2 separate regions of the Homo sapiens genome follow, and region 2 is linked to region 1. Evidence: promoter capture Hi-C in human tissues and cell types (Jung and others, 2019). All regions are on one chromosome and are shown on one strand. Each heading gives the region's core, a stretch centred on a gene start or on the middle of the fragment in contact. The rest is flanking DNA. Distances are from core to core; before and after follow the strand shown.

The links. The method cuts DNA at HindIII sites, captures the fragments that hold promoters and counts their contacts. A contact is called where the count stands out against the background at its distance.
Region 2: a fragment that was not itself captured here is called in contact with the fragment with the promoter of DENND4B in region 1 in 1 of the 25 tissues and cell types used here (pancreas).

The regions. Positions count from the first base shown.
Region 1 is chr1:153,943,893-153,949,959 of GRCh38, forward strand. It overlaps DENND4B (DENN domain containing 4B), which reads right to left and starts at 2,826. Exons shown (of 28, transcript NM_014856.3): 1 at 2,409-2,826; 2 at 166-505. The coding sequence starts at 482. CRTC2 (CREB regulated transcription coactivator 2) reads right to left here. Exons shown (of 14, transcript NM_181715.3): 12 at 5,223-5,492; 13 at 4,566-4,752; 14 at 3,783-4,437. The coding sequence ends at 4,217. RefSeq lists enhancers at 1,078-1,177, 1,498-1,547, 2,016-2,516, 3,328-3,397 and a silencer at 2,038-2,937. The HindIII fragment of the contact is 7,798 bases long and covers 1-6,067 here.
Region 2 is chr1:154,119,257-154,126,052 of GRCh38, forward strand. All of the region lies in intron 10 of NUP210L (nucleoporin 210 like), which reads right to left. Among named protein-coding and RNA genes, the nearest start is that of MIR5698, 18 kb to the left of the region's middle. The HindIII fragment of the contact is 5,706 bases long and covers 1-4,695 here.

The DNA of each region.
Region 1 (6,067 bases), core at 1,576-4,075:
TCTGTAAGGACTAAGTACATACAACTTCAGTCCTTCCTTCCTGGCCCCTGGCCCACCAGGCTCCCATCCCCATTGCCCTTCCCTTGTTCCATAGTCCTACCTCTCCCTGTCTCACTGGAGTCCCTCCCAGCCTCCCCTGGTGCCAGCATGGGTAGGGGCACACACCCCAGCTCAACGAGGGGGGGCTTGTCACGGCCCCTGCGGTAGCAGATGACGGGTTGAGTTCCACCCAGAAGTCCAGCACTGAGTTCCAAGGGGTGGCCCCCAGCAGAAGCCTGGATGCATGTGTAGCCCTGGGGCACTTCCTCGCCCAGTGCCCTAGCGATGACTGCCACATCTGTGATGGGCTCAGCTGGCCGGGGAGGGCGCAGGGGCCCACTGGGTTCAGGAACCCACGTTTCCTCAGGGATGGGTGCTCCGTTCCCTGCAAGCCCAGCTACCACGAAGTAATCCACCAGCCGGGGGGGCCGCTCCTCCGCCATGGCCCCCCCCTCACTCACTGCATCTGGAATGGTCAAGTGGGAGAGAGATGAAGCAAGGAAGGCTGGGGATGCCATGGCAACCAGGGTACCCTCTTGCTCCCCTCCTCTTCCTAGTCCTTCCAAAGAAAGGCAGGATAAGGGGTCGGCCAATCCTGAACTCTTCCCCCTGTGACATCACTGCCCACCACAGCTTCTTAAAGAGACCAGATCCCTCCCACTTAATGGTCCTGGCACTCCCCTCAAAGAACCTAAACTCCACCACACACAGCTAACCTGAGCTATGACATTCACATTGTCCATGTGTCCCTTTTAAAGGCTCACCAGTTATAACATCACAGAGATCACAATCTTTTTTGTAATAGCCTTCCATGACATCATTCATGCTGGCCATGACATCATACCAACCTTACAGTCTTTTCAAGGGTTTCTGACCTTCCTACTCTAGTTATGACACCATAAGAACCTTGTGATCCTGCCAATGTTCTTAAAGAGCCCACTCCTAGGTTTTTAAGAGGACCCCATGGGTTTCTGAGAAAGCCCACAAAACCCAAGCTTTAAGAGTCTTTTCAACGAACCCAAGTGTCCTTTCTCCTAGCTTAACTCCACCAATCTGGCCCAAAATCCAGTGTTCTCACACCTCCAGGATCCTTAGGTAGCTCGTTAGATCCAAAGCAGTTGTGAGAGACAAGTCCCGGCCATCCCACACCCTCCACCATGGAGCCCAGAGACAGAAACAGGCCCACAACAGCCTAGTTCTCACCTGCCTCCATGGCCCAACCCCGGGGAGTAGGAGCCCCAAGGGTCCTGAGGCGCCCCAGGGTGCAGAAGCTGGGAAAAAGCCTGGTGGGTAGCTCGCAGCAGGGGCCCAGAAGCGTGGGGGGTGCTTCAGAGGGGAAGGGAGGTTACTTCCTGAAACAGTGGAGGGGAAGCTGCAACTCAGAGGAAGTCAGCCTATGGGTGTGTGTGGTGGCGGTGGCGGTGGTGGGGTTACCATTGAAGGTGCCAGCACAGCATTACGCCAAGTTGGAATCTCAGACTATAGGATCCTGAGCAAGGCAGAGGAGGCTCAGAATGGTTCCAGGATGTGCAGTCCTGCTAACCTCCTGCTGTTCCCCCAGAGAACAGGGAATAAGGAATCTCATAGAGCCAGGCTGGCTTTCTTCATCACCTGGCCTCTGGACACACACACACACACACACACGCACACACACACGCACACACGTACACACACCAACCCCAGCTAAATTTAGACTCCACTTCTGGGAGGTAAAGCCAGGAGTCAGCGTCAGCCTCTTGATTTAATTCTGGGGCACAGACCTGTCCCTCATCCACTGAGGGCGAATGGGAGCCCTATGCCCAAGGCAGCAGGCAGAGGCCATTAGGTGGGACCTTCTGAGGGGCAAGTGGGTGGCACCCATCCGCAGGACCTGCGCACCGGGGCCTCCCCTCACCAAGCCAGGGAAGAGTCCTGCAGAAAGCAGCCCTTTCTCCCTAGGGAAGACAACGGGCACAGGGCCCACTCCGGGTCCCCACGCCCGCGTGCCGGGTGACGGGAAGTTCGGGTTGGGGCAGAGGGCGCGCCGAGGGGGAGGAGGCTGAGGAAGGAGCAGGAGGGCAGAGAAGCAGGCGCGCCGGCGGCCGAGGACGTGACGGCAGCAGCGCCGGCCGCCGCGTGACCCAAGCGGGAGGGAGGGCGGCTCCGACTCCGGCACCCACGGGAGCAGAAGGGGGTGCAGGAGGCCGGGCACGGCGAGCTAATTGCGGGAGGTGCCCTCCCCTCCACTTTCACTTCCCCAGGAGAGAGGAACCGGAACCAGATGTGCAGTGAGGGACAGCAGCTGGGGGCCATCCCCCACCCCGCCTGCCGCCCGCGCTCCCTCCTGCCCGTCCCCGCCTGCCGCCCAGCCCGGTCCAGCCCCTACCTGCCTGTCCCGCGCTTCCCGGCCGGCCGGCCCGCTGGCGGGTGGCTCGGAGGGCGAGCTGGCGGGCCGGCGGGCGGCGGGGCTACCCGGCCCCAGACATGGCGCACCCGACTTGGGCGCCGCTCCCGCCCGGGCAGTGAGTGAAGGAAGAAGAGGCGGCCGAGGACCGCAGAGCGCGGGGCGCAGTGGAAGGAGATCCGGGCGGTCCCCGCGTCCCCGCCGCGCTGCGCCACGCGGGGACTGTGCTGCCGCGCTGCTCGCTCGGCCGGCTCGGTCCTCCCAGCTCCCGCGGCGCCGGGGACCCAGCGTTCCTCCGCGCGCCCCGCTTTCTCTACTCCCCCAACCCCCGCTCCGGGCCGCGGGCGCCGCCGCTACCCCCACCCCTCCTCCTCGGCCGGCGGCCGTGACCCTGGCAAGCGTCTGCCCAAAGCCCAGCCGCCTGCAGCCCGACCCCTGGCGGCTGGGAGGGCCCCCTGCACCCAGGTAGCTTCCCACCATCCAGCCCGTGCCTCAGGACACTGACCCCAGGCGACCCAGAGGGCCGCGGCGCGCTCCCTTCCCGCCTGGGTCCTGCAGTCAGATGTGGCAAGCATGATGTGGGCGCAGGTGAAGTCCCGAAGGTCTAGTCTACGGGGACCCAGGTGGCTCCCCCTACTTCCAGGTTTAGGGCACAGGGCATTCCCTTTGGACCAGAACCAGAAGCTCTCAGTTCTCTTTTTTGAAAATGACAAGAGCTTTGGAAAGAGGAAGAGAGGCCAGGACTGCAGGGTGTGGAATAGAGCAGTGGAGGTGGGGGTAAGGTAACTGCGGGGCTCTACTTTTCTCACTATGCGGGTTGGGGGAGTGAGGGGTGCAGAGGCCCACACGGCTGGTCCAAGGGCTGGCAACCCAATCCAGAAAGAGAAAACCTTCAGAACATGCATGGCACTGAAGGATCTGTTTAATTAAAACTAAAATGAATGAGTGGTGAAGAGTGGAGAGGGTGAAGTGAATGCATGCATAGTGAGGGAGTGAGGATGAAGGCTTGCTTCCCTGAGACCTAGGAGCACTTCAGACCTGTGGGCTCAGCCAGCAATCACCTCCTTACCCGACTCACTGCCAGACCTAGGGTTGAGGAAGAGGAATAACTTGTCTGATCAGTCAAAGCCCCCATCTGATGCTGCAGCAGGGCCCTGGACAGACAGGAGGGCACATGAAGTGATTTCCTGCTGCCGTGGAAGCCTACATCCAGCTGGGTACAAATTCCGAGGCTGTGGGGCCCTTCCACAAAGCACAGTGGTGCTAAGAAGATGCAAAAAGCCTAATAGATAAAAAGACCCATGGCCCTATAACTCCCTAGATCCCCAGCCATGCCCCAAATAACTAACCACACCAAGGGTTTGATATGATTTTTTTATTAACATATAATAATATATTTAATAAAAAATAGTATCCACTCTGGCTCTCTCCTCCACTGCAAGGGGAAGAGTGGTGAGGAGGGGCTGGCACTGCCCACCCCTAGGCATCCGGAAAAGCCCTGCTTCCAGGGCTCCCCTCTACCCCTGCTTTCCAACAGGCTCTGACCTCCAGACAGACGGTTCAAAGTTACAAGTGCTTTAGGCCCTCCCTTGAGTTCCCCCAGGCCCATCCCTTGCGCAGAATTCAGGGGCCACCTGGACAAACCCCTTGCTTTTTCTCATTCTTGGCATCCTTCATTCATGCTAGAAAGAGGATCTGGGGACAGAGAGTAGAGTCTCTACCTGCCAGGGGGAAGGGAGGAAAGGAATGGTGGTGGGGGATGGGGCCAAGAAGAGGGATGGTGATGAGGTGCCCTCATTGGAGCCGGTCACTGCGGAATGACTCCTCCACAGCAGGATCAGGCAGCAGGGCACAGGGGTCACTCAGCATGTTTAGCCCTTCCAGGCCCAGTGGCTCCATGCGCAGCTCATCTTCTAGCCCAAGCCCTAGCTCCAATCCAGCTGCTGACACCTCAAAGCCAGGCACTCCGGCCAGGGCTGCTGCAATCTCCTTAGAGAAACCTGGAGAGGAGTCCCCTGTGGGTAGAAGAGACAGGTGAGGACCCCATGTCCTGTAAACTTTTCCAAGACCCCTCAATCTCCTACTCATTAGTGAATGTGTCACTTCCTCCTTCCATTTCCCATCACCACCCACCCCCATTCACCTGTGAGGATGATGTTAGGCCCTGAGCCATGGCGGGAACAGTGGGTCAAGTTCTGGTGGTTGAAGGTGTGGGGATCCTGGGGGCCACCCATTGGCCCCTCACCCCCTAAAAATCCAGGCCCTTCAGAAAAGCCAGGGGGATCCAGCACCAGGCTGGCTGATGGGCTCTCCATGCTGAACTGCTCCAGCTATAGACATACAGACAAATCTTTAGGAAGTAGGATTTAGAACTGGTGTCCTGCCTAGCCCTGCTAACATATCCCCTTTGCCCAGCAACCTTCATCCACCCCAGGAACAGAGGCAATGACAGAGGGAGGTGGCAGCAAGCAGAGCGACAGAAGCGAGCACGGGGCCCGAAGTAAGTATGGGCACCGTACCTGCTGGGCCAGAGCATGTGCATGCCAGGAAGAGAACGGGTCAAGGCAGAAGTCATCAAAGAGCAAGCTGAGCAGAAATAGAGGGGCAGGAGTAGGGTCAAACGCAGGAAGAGAGGAGCCCCAAGCTGGCAGTGCTATGTTACCTCCGGGGAGAGGAGATCTCCCCACCACCCACCCCACCTAGATCTCCCCATTCACAGTGCACCAGCCATGCCATTCAGGCCCCATTGACCCACCCTCACCCACTCCCCTGCTTTTGAGCAAGGAGCCTGAGTACTCACATTCCCCAGGTTGAAGTCACTCATTGGCCGGTGGTAAGACTGTTGCCCATGCCCACTGGGCCCAGGTGGGTACGGTGTCCCATAATGAGACTGCCTGCCTGGGGGCTGCCCACCTGAGGACTGCACTGAACAAGACTGAGAGGGCAGCCCTGGCTGCTGTAGAGACTTTGGGGTGTGGGGCTGGGTAGGCAGAACCAGACTTGGGGAGCTGTATGGGTATGGGGGTAACCGCTGGTCAGTGGACAGTTTACTGGTATCCAGGGGGACGCCCTGAAAAGAAGTAAAAAGAGGGAAGCTTACTGCTCAGTGTATACCCCAAGAACTCTCAGTCAGAGCTTCCCACCTTCTTTAGCTACAACCATTCCCAAAACAAACATGACAACATTCCACATTCTCACGGGCATCCCTGGGGTTGAGTGCAGTTACTCAACCCCAGGGATGTGTATTAGTTGGCAGGGTGTGGTGGCTCATGCCTGTAATCCCAGCACTTTGGGAGGCCCAAGGCAGGTGGATCACCTGAGGTCAGGAGTTCGAGACCAGCCTGGCCAACATGGTGAAACCCCGTCTCTACTAAAAATATAAAAATTAGCTGGGCATGGTAGCAGGCGTCTGTAGTCCCAGCTATTCGGGTGGCTGAGACAGGAGAATTGCTTGAACCCAGGAAGTGGGAGGTTGCAGTGAGCCAAGATCACACCACTGCACTTCAGCCTGGGCAACAGAGCGAGACTCCGTCTCCAAAAAAAAAAAAGTGCCTATCAGAATGAAAGTGATATAGTGAGGCTAACACAGGGGTAATTTTAAATCTACTCCAGAAGTAAACTATTCTCTTTTTTTGAGACAGGGCC
Region 2 (6,796 bases), core at 593-3,092, 170 kb after region 1:
CCCACTCATATATAGAGGGCCAACTTTTTGTGTAAGGTTCTACAGGGCTGGCTGGGAGAGGTGGCTCATGTCTATAATCCCAGCACTTTGGGAGGACGAGGTGGGTGGACCACCTGAGGTCAGGAGTTCAAAACCAGCCTGGCCAACATGGTGAAACCCCATCTCTACTAAAAATACAAAAAATCAGCTGAGCGTGTGGTGCATGCCTGTAACTCCAGCTACTTGGGAGGCTGAGACAGGAGAATTGCTTGAACTTGGGAGGCGGAGGTTGCAGTAAGCTGAGATCACGCCACTGCACTCCAGCCTGGGCAACAATAGGGAAACCTGGTCTCAAAAAACAAACAAACAAACAAAAAACCAAATAAATAAATAAATAATAAGGTTCTACAGGGCTGAATGTAGGACTTGAGTATGCGTGGATTTTGGTATATGTGGGGTCCTGAAACCAGTTCCCCACATATACTGAGGGACAATTGTATTTAGAAGTGCATTATCCATGGTGTATATGTGCCACATTTTCTTAATCCAGTCTATCACTAATGGACATTTGGGTTGGTTCCAAGTCTTTGCTATTGTGAATAGTGCTGCAATAAACATACGTGTGCATGTGTCTTTATAGCAGCATGACTTATAATCCTTTGGGTATATACCCAGTAATGGGATGGCTGGGTCAAATGGTATTTCTAGTTCTAGATCCTTGAGGAATCGCCACGCTGACTTCCACAATGGTTGAACTAGTTTACAGTCCCACCAACAGTGTAAAAGTGTTCCTATTTCTCCACATCCTCTCCAGCACCTGTTGTTTCCTGACTTTTTAATGATTGCCATTCTAACTGGTGTGAGATGATATCTCATTGTGGTTTTGATTTGCATTTCTCTGATGGCCAGTGATGAGGAGCATTTTTTCATGTGTCTGTTGGCTGCATAAATGTCTTCTTTTGAGAAGTGTCTGTTCACATCCTTCACCCACTTTTTGATGGGGTTGTTTTCTTCTTGTAAATTTGTTTGAGTTCTTTGTAGATTCTGGATACTATGCAGCCATAAAAAAGGGTGAGTTCATGTCCTTTGTAGGGACATGGATGAAGCTGGAAACCATCATTCTCAGCAAACTATCACAAGGACAAAAAACCAAACACCGTATGCTCTCACTCATAGGTGGGAATTGAACAATGAGAACACTTGGACACAGAAAGGGGAACATCACACCCCGGAGCCTGTCATGGGGTTGGGGGAGGGGGGAAGGATAGCATTAGGAGATATACCTAACGTAAATGATAAGTTAATGGGTGCAGCACACCAACATGGCACATGTATACATATGTAACAAACCTGCACATTGTGCACATGTACCCTAGAACTTAAAGTATAATAATTAAAAAAAAAAAAAAAAAGAAATGCATTATCCAAGGTGGCCAGATCATGAGGTCAGGAGTTTGAGAACAGCCTGGCCAACATGGTGAAACCCCGTCTCTACCTAAAGATACAAAAAATTAGCCAGGCATGGTGGCATGCACCTGTAATCCCAGCTACACAGGAGGCTGAGGCAGGAGAATCACTTGAACCCATGAGGCGGAGGTTGCAGTGAGCTGACATCACACCATTGCACAACAGCCTGGGAGACAGGGCGAGACTCTGTCTCAAAAAAAAAAAAAAAAAAAAAGTAGTGCATTATTAAATTTATAAATATGTACTTTAAAAATCCCTTTATTGTTGATTTTAATCACATGATTGCAGACAAGGTATAATAATCTGGTAGTGAGATCTTCTTCAAGGATAGTCAGAGAAACTTTTAGATCTCTTATGGGGATCTCATGCTGGGAATTTAAAGCCCTGATGTAACCATTTTCTTTCCCCACACTATCCAGCACATTTAGCAACAATGATCAATCATATTAAATCCCTTACTGTCACTGTAATGTTTTAGGGGAGCAACCAGTTGGTTACCTAAAGCTTTGCCTTCTCTATGCACTTGACTGGAGTGTGTCTACAGGTAATAATTTAAACAGCTGTTTTGCTATTGCATGCCATGGAATAGCAGTGCTCACTTTATTACTGGAAACAGGTTCATTAAATCATTTAAGTCTAATATCAGGGAACCCAGAACGAATTTGGAGCACCTATCTATGATAACTAGACTAAAAGATGGCCCCCAAAGATTTCTGACTCCTGGTATTCACCCCCTTCTGTAGTCCCCATTATGTAGTATACATTGTCTTAGGATTGGTCTGAATAACCAATAGAATATGGCAGAAGTGCTTATATTAAAAAAGAAGAAAGATATAACCCAATGATCCATCATAAAGTTCTTCCACCATAAGAAACTTTAAAGGCTGAAAGCGGTGGCTCACGCCTGTAATCCTAGCACTTTGGGAGGCCAAGGCGGGTGGATCACCTGAGGTCAGGAGTTTGAGACCAGTCTGGCCAACATAGTGAAATCCCGTCTCTACTAAAAATACAAAAATTAGCTGGGCATGGTGGCGGGCGCCTGTAATCCCAGCTACTCGGGAGGCTGAGGCAGGAGAATCACTTGAACCCGGGAGGCGGAGGTTGCAGTGGGCCGAGATCGTTCCACTGCTCTCCAGTCTGGGCAACAGTAAGACTCCATCTCAAAAAAAAAAAGAAAAAGAAACTTTAAAAAGAAAAGCAAATTAAATCCAAACGAAGCAAAAGAAAGAGAATAATACAAAAGCATAAATGAATGAAATAGAAAACAGACAAATAGAGAAAAGTCAATGAAACCAACAGTTGCTCTTTGAAAAACTCAATAACATTTATAAACCTCTAGCCAGACTCAGAAAGAAAACAAGAGAGACATAAATGACCAATATCAGGAATTAATAAGGGGACATCACTACAGATTTTATAGACAACAAAAGACTAGTAAAACAATATTTTGAACAACTTTATGTGATAAATTCAACCACTTAGATAAAATGGACAAATTCCTTCAAAGATACAAACTACCAAATAACATGTGAATGGCTGTATATATATTTTTAAAATTGAATTCATAGTTTAAAAACTTCCCATACACTGATCATTAGGAAAAGGAAAATGAAAACCATAGTTAGATACTACTTATTACCCATTAGGATGGCTATTATTTAAAAACAAAACAGGCCCAGCGCGGTGGCTCACGCCTGTAATCCCAGCACTTTGGGAGGCCGAGGCAGGCAGATCATGAGGTCAGGAGATCAAGACCATCCTGGCTAACACAGCGAAACCCCGTTTCTACTAAAAATACAAAAAATTAGCCGGGCATGGTGGCAGGCGCCTGTAGTCCCAGCTACTCAGAGGCTGAGGCAGGAGAATGGTGTGAACTCGGGAGGTGGAGGTTGCAGTGAGCCGAGATTGTGCCACTGCACTCTAGTCTGGGAAACAGAGCAAAACTCCGTCTCAAAGAAAACAAAACAGAAAATAACAAGTGTTGACAAGGATGTGGAGAAATAGGAACACTTATACAATGCTGGTGGAATGTAACATGGTGCAGCTACTGTAGAAAACAGTATGGCAGTTCCAGGGCCAGGTGCAGTGGCTCACACCTCTAATCCCAGCACCTTGGGAGGCTGAGGTGGGTGGAGCACCTGAGTTCAGGAGTTTGAGACCAGCCAGGGCAACATGGTGAAACTCATCTCTACAAAAAAATTAGCTGGGAGTGGTGGAATGCACCTGTAGTCCCAGCTACTCAGGAGGCTGAGGTAGGAGGATCACTTGGGCCCAGGAGGTCAAGGCTGCAGTAAACCATGATGGTGCCACTGCAATCCACCCTGGGTAACAGAGTGAGACCCTGTCTCAAAAAAAAAAAAAAAAAAACCACAAAAAACTACTAGAGCTAATAAATTAATTCAGCGAAGTTGCCATATACAACATCAACACTCCAATGTCAGTTGTATTTCTTTTCTTTTTGAGACGGAGTTTCGCTCTTGTTGCCCAGGCTGGAGTGCAATGGCGCAACCTCGGCTCACTGCAACCTCCGCCTCCCAGGTTCAAGCTATTCTCCTGCCTCAGCCTCCCGAGTATCCGGGATTATAGGCACGCGCCACCACGCCCAGCTAATTTTTGCATTTTTAGTAGAGATGGAGTTTCATCATGTTGGCCAGGCTGGTCTCAAGCTCCTGACCTCAAGTGATCCACCCGCCTGGGCCTTCCAAATGCTAGGATTATAGGCGTGAGCCAACTCGCCCATCTGGATTTGCATTTTCTTAATGACTAATCATGCTGAACATCTTTTAATGTGCTATTAGCCATATGTACATTTTCTTTGTCCTATATACTATTTTTGCAACTTCTGGTAAATCTATAATAATTTCAAAATTAAAAGTTTAAAAAGTTATTAATGGGCCAGTTTCCATGGCTCACTCCTACAATTCCAGCACTTTGGGAGGCCAAGGCGGGTGGATCACTTGAGGTCAGGAGTTCGAGACCACCCTGGCCAACATAGTAAAACCTTGTCTCTACTAAAAATACAAAAATTAGCCAGCCATTGTGGCATGATCCTGTATTCCCAGCTACTCGGGAGGCTGAGGCAGGAGAATCGCTTGAACTCAGGAGGCAGAGGTTGCAGTGAACCGAGATCGTGCCACTGCACTCCAGCCTAGGTGACAGAGTGAGACTGTCTCAATTAAAAAAAAAAAAGAGAGAGAGAGGCTGGGCGCGGTGGCTCATGCCTGTAATCCTAGCACTTTGGGAGTCCAAGGTGGGCGGATCACAAGGTCAGGAGTTCGAGACCAGCCTGGCCAATATGGTGAAACCCCCATCTCTACTAAAAAAAATTACAAAAATTAGCCGGGCGTGGTGGCACACGCCTGTAGTCCTAGCTACTTGGGAGGCTGAGGCAGGAGAATCACATGAACACAGGAGGCGGAGGTTGCAGTGAGCTGAGATCGCGCCACTGCGCTCCAGCCTGGGCAACAGAGTGAGACTCCATCTCAAAAAGAAAAAAAAAAAAAAAGAGAGAGAGAGAGCACAACGGGGATGGTAAAAAAAAAAAAGATTTGACTGGCATTTAGAATTGACATGGCACTTAATAATGTATTGAATACAGAAGCTGAGGGAGAAGGCAGAGTCAAGGGTGACTTCGGATTTTGTCTAAACTGAGTGAAAGGAGCATTGGAGAAAAAGTAGGTTTGGGAGAGGAAAGCAGGTTTGGCAGGCTAGTAAAAATCAGGATACTTATGTATTTTGGAGGCATTAGAAACAGATTCATTCCTTATCCCTTTACTCAATAACTCCATTTCTGTTGTTACACAGTATGGAAATAATCCAAAAGAAAAAAAATGTACAAAGATACTCAGTTATGCCATTTACAACAGTAAAAAAAATGGAAATAATGGAAACATTCAATGTTTGGGGCATGGGTAAATAAATTGGCATATGAAACCTTTGGATTTTTAGAATTAATAGTACTCTATGCACCTGGTAGTGGTGGCTCACACCTGTAATCTCAACATTTTGGGACGCCAAGGCAGGAGGAACACTTGAGCCTAGGAGTTTGAGACCATTGTGGGCAACATAGCAAGAACCTGTCTCTACAAAAAATATAAAAATTAGCTGGGTGTGGTGGCACACGCCTGTAGTCCCAGCTACTTGGAAGGCTAAGGCAGGAGGATCACTTGAGCCCAGGAGGTCGAGGCTGCAGGTAAGCTATGATGATGCCATTGCACTCCAGCCTGGGTGACAGAGTGAGACTTGTCTCCAAAAAAAGAAAAATAAAGTACGCTCTGTGGACCTGATGACACATGGAAATGTGCATATGAAATACATCATGGCTGGGTGTAGTGGCTCACACCTATAATCCCAGCACTTTGGGAGGCTGACATGGGAGGATCACTTGAGCCTAGGAGTTCAAGACCAGCCTGTGCCACACAGTGAAACGCCTTCTTTACAAAAAATTTAAAAATTAGCCAGGTGTGGCCGGTTGTGGTGGCTCATGCCTGTAATCCCAGCACTTTGGGAGGGTGAGGCGGGTGAATCACTTGAGGTCAGGAGTTCAAGGCCAGCCTGGCCAACATGGTGAAACCCTGTCTCTACTAAAAATACAAAAATTTGCCAGGCATGGTGGTGGATGCCTATAACCCCAGCTACACAGGAGGCTGAGGTAGGAGAATCGCTTGAACCCAGGAAGCAGAGGTTGCAGTGAGCCAAGACCACGCCACTGCACTCCAGCCTGGGCAACAGAGTGAGACTCTGCCTCGAAAAACTAAACAAAAACAAAAATTAGCCAGGTGTGGTGGCATGTGCCTGCAGTCCCAGCTACTTGGGGGGCTAAGGTGGGAGGATTGCTTGAGCCTGGGAGGTCCAGGCTGCAGTGAGCCATGAGTGCACCACTGCACTCCATCCTGGCTGATGAAATGAGGCCCTCTCTGAAAGGAAGGAAGGAAGGAAGGAAGGAAGGAAGGAAGGAAGGAAGGAAGGAAGGAAGGAAGGAAGGAAGGAAGGAAGGAAGGAAGGAAGGAAGGAAGGAAGGAAGGAAGGAAGGAAGGGAGGGAGGGAAATGTTTTTTTTTTTTTTTTTTTTTTTTTTTTTTTTTGAGACGGAGTCTCGCTCTGTCGCCCAGGCTGGAGCGCAGTGGCGGGATCTCGGCTCACTGCAAGCTCCGCCTCCCGGGTTCACGCCATTCTCCTGCCTCAGCCTCCCAAGTAGCTGGAACTACAGGCGCCCGCCACCGCGCCCGGCTAATTTTTTTGTATTTTTAGTAGAGACGGGGTTTCACCGTTTTAGCCGGGATGGTCTCGATCTCCTGACCTCGTGATCCGCCCGCCTCGGCCTCCCAAAGTGCTGGGATTACAGGCGTGAG